2 separate regions of the Homo sapiens genome follow, and region 1 is linked to region 2. The links are contacts of gene promoters, found by promoter capture Hi-C in human tissues and cell types (Jung and others, 2019). All regions are on one chromosome and are shown on one strand. Each heading gives the region's core, a stretch centred on a gene start or on the middle of the fragment in contact. The rest is flanking DNA. Distances are from core to core; before and after follow the strand shown. Region 1 has its middle 91 kb from the start of MTPN. Region 2 holds the start of SLC13A4 (solute carrier family 13 member 4).

Region 1 (3,012 bases), core at 2-2,501, 340 kb before region 2:
CTGAGAACCAAGAGGAAAGCAAATACTAAAGATCAGCTCTCCTCAATTCTCCTTTGAGGATTTTGAATCCTCGAAGTTATAAAACTAGTGATATTTAGTTTTATTTCCATTTGTTTGGGATATACTATCATTGGCCCAATTTTCCCTCAAACAGCAGGGAATGAGAGATACAGCTGGGACAGGATAGCTACTACTTCTATCTCCTTTCCAACCTTGGTATGATTGGTCATCATACAGCTTCCTAAGGTGATTAGACCCTGAACTTAGCAAAACTAGCCACAAACAGGTATCTTTTTCCCTCGATCTTATTTTCAGAAGCTACTGGAAATGACCAACACAAGAGCAAATGTTTCTCTCAGCATGAAGACATGTTCATAGATTTTAGATTTTTTTCAATCACTGGAAAAGCTGTGCCTACCAACAATTTATGGCAAAAAAAGATTCTGAATAGGTATGCCCTTTGAGAAACTCTTGTCAGGAATGATCCACACTTTGACTCTCAACTCTTCCTTCCAAACATCCAGGATCCTATGTGGATTCTCAATTCAATGCTCTTAATGACCCAGGACTAGTTTCTTCTTGAAGAATCTGCTTGGTTCAGTTTAGGTTGGGTCATGGACTATCCCTAGATATATAGGAAGCAGCCCAGATGGTGTATATACTGGTGTCCAGTTGCATTTCTCAGAGAAGGAGGAGTTGTTATAAGCTGGGGATGATCAGACAGTAGGTAACTGCCTCAGTCCTTGAGATTTTGTGGTGCCCCTAGCTATTCTGGTCCTGCTAACCCCTGATACAGCCTCTATGATATTCCTACATAGTTCTACTACCCCACCACTGCAGTGCTGGCTGTGAAATGACAAGCCAGAAAACCCACACATGACTGTAGTTTCTCTATCAACAAGAGACTGTCAATTCACTGATGAGAAAACATTTCATTAAAAATAATTCTTTCTATATACAGATCACTTGACAGTTCACAAATCACTTTCATGGGTTATATGACAGAACCCTCACAACAACCTTAGGAGATAGAAAATGTAACTTTTATCTCCCTTATAAAAGCAAGCAAACTCAGAAATGCTACTTGACTTGTTTCCAATTACAGAATTAATACATAATAGAGACAGAACTTGAGCTCAGGACTCCAGACTCCAAGGCTGAACATGCTTTCCAAGGTGCCACGGGGCCTCTCACTTCAGCAATGAAGAAAAGCAAATCTGGAAGCCCAGCACACACCACCTGGGATGCTTACAGACTGCATACAACACAATACTGCAAATCGGTGGGGACTCAATAAGGCCAGAATCCCACCATTGGCCTACCTTCTAGACTTGGGTTTACTAAAGGATAACCTTTGGTTCAGCAGACTCCTCCGCATTCGAAGTGGTATGTCAGTCATACAATGAGGTCTAAAACAGCAAATTTCTAACCCACAACTTATTAGAATCCTTTATCAAGTATTATTAAAATACCGATTCCTAGACCTAGACCTCCTAATTCAGAGTCTCTAGATATATAGCCTGGGAATATGGACTTTTTAAAAAGCTCTAAAGGAGCTATTGATCAAACTGAAGGTTGTGATCCACTTTTCTTAAATACAATCAACTCTGCATATCGATTATACTCCTAAAATAACTACCAATTAAAGGGAGGGGAGATTCAAGGCTTACTGGATATGGCAGTAATAGGCTTAATGTTGTTGTAATAAAAAATTTTCAGTTTTCATAGCCAGAGTTCTTCCTACTTCTAAGAACTATAATTATTCTCCCTCTTGGAAAAGTCATGTTAAGAGGGAGTCATTCTCCTCTACCTTCTGCTATGCTTATGACTGAGGCAGTGCTCATTAAAAGATAAGTAAACAATTTGCCTGGCTTAGAAACAACCTGAAATAGTAATAATAGAAATTTCTGCAAATGCAAGGAGGCAGAGTTGCTTGGAAGACCCAGGTCCAGAAGTAGCCCTGGGGAACATACTTTTATCAGCAAATACTTCAAGCCATCTGCATATGTAACAAACCAAAGCAGGAAAAAAAGAAAAAAGGAACCCCTGTAACTAGTGCTAACCTTCAACTAACCCCTATAGACATACATTAATCAGACTTTTCATCTACTTACAGATATCGTCAAAGAACAGACACTATTTTGTGTAACTGACCATGACTCTGTGTTGGCCACTCTAAATTTTAGGTCTCAATTTAGACTGTACTCCTAGCAAAATGTTAGAAGTTTTTAAAACATCCATTGGTTCATTCAGTTTACTAATCTCACTCTGGCTTCATCTTATTTTTTTCAATCTTTTATTCAATTGCTTGACCTACTTATATTTAATTATATTTTATCTTGTTACATGCTATATATTTTTATAAGTTGCCCCACATCCTTTTAAGAAACAAGGAAAAAGGGGAAAGAACGATGAGAAAGAGGAAGAGAAAGGGGGTGGGGAGAAGGTAGGAGGGAAAGAATGAGAGAGAATATTCTAGAGCAGGGGTCCCTAACCCCCAAGCCATGGACCACTACCAGTTCGTGGCCTGTTAGGAACCGGGCCTCCCAGCAGAAGGTGAGCAGCAGTCAAACATTACCGCCGGGGCTCCCTCCCGTCAGATTAGCGGTGGCATTCGATTCTCATAGGAGCGAGAATGTGCATGCGAGGGATCTAGGTTGCGCGCTCCTTATGAGAATCTCATGGCTCTGAAACAATCCCCCTGACCCCGTGCGTGGAAAAATTGTCTTCCATGAAACTAGTCCCTCGTGCCAAAAAGGTTGAGGACTTCTGTTCTAGAGCAGCTGCAGCCCCAAAATCTCCAACTTTACTGAACGCTTGTATTTTTTACTAATTACAGATGCTAGTCTTATAAAGCTGGGTATCATATTACTTCAAGTTATTCATAACTCACTGCTGTGGTTTTCTAAAACTGTGTTTATCTGTTCTAAGAAATAAGATTAAGTATCCTTACTTTTTTTCAACTTAGAACTGTAAAATAAGTGAAGGGGGTACAATTTATTTATTTATTTA
Region 2 (3,116 bases), core at 127-2,626:
AATTTGGAATGGTTCATGGGTTTAACAGTGGATGTTGACTTCCACAGCTGCTTATAATTATTCGCTGTCTTTAATGTTTGCGACCAAAACATCACACACGTGGTATTGTTCATTCTGAGTTTCAAAATCATAACCAAAAAAAAATGAGGCCAGAATGTAGTAAATACAGTAGCCAGTCTTTAACATGCATTTAAAGAGTTGAGTCATCCTAGCCCATCCTACGATGGCAAGATAATTTCAAAGGGGACCTCAGCTGTCCACAGTTGCACCTGCCTTAAAAGTCAAGAAGAATTTGTTTTTTGGGTCACTTCCCTGGTCACTTTAGCCTGGGGATCATTTCCAAGTAGTATAGTTGCAGATCTTCGAACGCCATTCCTGTGTTCTGTGAATTCAAGACAACATGGGTTTTATAACCCTTTGACTCTGCTCAGCATCTCCCAGATCAAGGTAAGGTAATGTTGCCAAGAACCACTACTTACAGAATGTTTGGGCTTTTGCTTTTGCTTTTCTTCCTTGCCCCAAATCCACATGTCCGTTCTGAGAAAAGAAGCTAACAACTTCTTCCAATCTGTAAACAGGAGAAATTCCAGAGTTCAACTGCAGCTAAGACCTTGTCCCTGAACTTGTCAACTTCTTCCCTGCCCTCCCACCTCCTCCTTTCGTACCAGCCAAAGAAGGTCTTCGGTTTCCTTTTTGGAGAGCCCCAGAGAGAAGCATTTGAGCACCTACTTTAGCCAGAGAGACCACTGACATCTGGGCATGAGACTGGCATCTAGACTTTGCCAGGGAGGCAGCTATACTTCCCAAAAGATCTGGGGTCTTTCTCACGAGCTCATACCCTCTGCTGGCCTAGACCCTTTATATTCCCCCCTCGGTGCTGAGGCAAACGATCTTTGCCAGCAGGGAGGTCTGAAAGGCTTAACTTTGTACACTCTGAGGCAAATTCTCCAGAAGTAATGTTGCATTTTCTCCCTGCCACCAGGCACATTCCCTTCCCAAGGTCTAGATCAGCAGGTGGCCCTCCCAGCGAAAGCTCTGTGTCCTATGATCCGAAACAATAAAGCTGTGCTTGGGTACGTGAGATTATGTTTACGATGATGGTCATCACTCCAGCCCTAGGAAGTTTGAGAAACTGAAAAATAAGCTTAGCAGGCTGCCTAGGTTCTGCGGAATCAGCAGGCCCCCGCTGTGACCAATCAAGAGCGGCCGCGGGGAGAGAAATTGACTCATTCTTTTCAATTTGCTGATTGGCTTTGAGAAGTGGGCGGAGCTACTGTCTCTGTCCCGGCTTCCCATTGGTGGATGAAAGTTAAAGGTGGGCCTCCAGCAAGTTTTGTCCTTTGATAAAAAGGAATGTCTTGGGGACTTTTCTTTTCTGCTTTGCAGGCCCAGGCTCAAGGCAAATTATAAGTAGGGAACCAATTTGAGGGAAAGACATGTGAACAGAGTTAAGGTACCACGTCCTGGGAGCGACCAGCAGCCCCACCTGAAGTCCGCATGCAACTCTGACAAGCTCAGGTGCTTGTTTTAAGGAAAGGGGCTACTAGAGTCTTACCAACAGCGAGCCCAGGTGGGAGATGAAACAGGTACTCCCCAAAATAGGTCATCCGAGGGAGGAAAACTGATGGAGAGCACAATGTGCTCTGAGCGTTTTTAATGTTTTTAAGCTTTTAAATGATTTCTTCAAGGCCGAGCAGCAGCAGCAAAGGTGTGGCTTAAAGGATTAAGGGGGTTTCTGCTGACACCTAGAATGAAGTTACTCTATTACTAATCAAGCCGAGAGGAGGCCCACTATGCCCCCGTTTATCATCCTTTCCCAGTTCCTTTTTGCTGGTCACAAAACGATGCTCATCAATCCCACCTAAAGCAGGAGGCCAGGAGCCCAGCCTCTTGTAGAAACAGCGAGGGTATAACTGCCCTCCCGTTCTGCCCCCAAGACGAAGGAGGACTCTCGGAAGCCAAGAAAGGTTTAAGAAGTCTTTCTGGATAGAGAGCAGTGCCCAGGCAGGAAGCCTTTCGCCGGCAGAGCGGGGTCCAAGGACGAGCTGGAGAGGACAGAGGCGCGATGGGCCTGCTGCAGGGCCTGCTCCGAGTCCGGAAGCTGCTGCTGGTCGTCTGCGTCCCGCTCCTGCTGCTGCCTCTGCCCGTCCTCCACCCCAGCAGCGTGAGTACCGACCTGCGCCCACCGGGGGTCTGGGAGTCAGTGGGAGGGCAAAGAGGGGAGGTCGGTAGGGGAACATGGGGCGCTCAGGCAGTCCCTCAAAGTGGCTTGTGGTGGGTTTAAAGAAATGGAAGGATTTTTCCAGAGGAAACCAAGATATCTTCTTCCTAAAAGCTGTCATGTTCATCTCCTATCCCAGTCCCATTCCCCCAACCCCATGGCCCCCACCGGGGTCAGGACAGAGTAGGGGCCTTGGCAGAAGTGACTGATGGGTGTTGCACCAAGCAGCAGGCCAGCCTGCCCCAGCAGCGGGGGCCAGCGACACCCATGCAAACGACATGGTGCACCTGTGTTTGTCGGGAGTTCACCTGGGACCCTGGTTATCTGAGAGCCCCTGGAGACACAGAAAGAGCTCCCAATAGTGGCACTGAGGAGAAGGTTGGGGGAGGAAGAGAACCGTGGAGCCAATCCGTGGTCTGTGGTCGTGTCCTGGTGGGCTTCGATGACCACAGTTGAAGCTCTAATCCCGAAGGCGCCTATCAACTTCAGGGAATGAATGTTTAGGGAAGGAATGAAAGCAGAACTTAGCAGGCTGCCCTGCTCCCATGCACGTGGCCTTGAATTATTTGTGTCTTCTGTGTTTTCTTCTCTGTCCTCTTGAAGGACAGACAAAAAGTGACACGATAAAAAAGAGATAAGAGCCCCCAAACTCTAGCCCGTGACCTCATTCTTCACCTGGTTTGTGAGAACAGAGGAACCTCAGCTCTGGCTCAGCATCCAGCTTGCCTGTCACACCCTCCTGGTGGTCACCTGCTTCCCTTCCCTTCCCTCCGCTGTTCTCTTCCTCCTGTCTGTGGCTTGTCCCCTTCCCCCAGCTGGCACTGCCCTGGAGACTTTAGGAAAAATAAGCTAAAACAGGTTAATCACGTTTGTAGGAGGGGGAGCAATTCTTCCA

Evidence for each region. The method cuts DNA at HindIII sites, captures the fragments that hold promoters and counts their contacts. A contact is called where the count stands out against the background at its distance.
Region 1: a contact is called between a fragment that was not itself captured here and the fragment with the promoter of SLC13A4 in region 2, in 1 of the 25 tissues and cell types used here (dorsolateral prefrontal cortex).

The regions. Positions count from the first base shown.
Region 1 is chr7:136,066,553-136,069,564 of GRCh38, reverse strand. It overlaps a transcript of LOC105375523 not described here. Among named protein-coding and RNA genes, the nearest start is that of MTPN, 91 kb to the right of the region's middle. The HindIII fragment of the contact is 4,318 bases long and covers 1-3,012 here.
Region 2 is chr7:135,726,446-135,729,561 of GRCh38, reverse strand. SLC13A4 (solute carrier family 13 member 4) reads left to right here and starts at 1,376. Exons shown (of 16, transcript NM_001318192.2): 1 at 1,376-2,164. The coding sequence starts at 2,066. The HindIII fragment of the contact is 3,336 bases long and covers 1-1,406 here.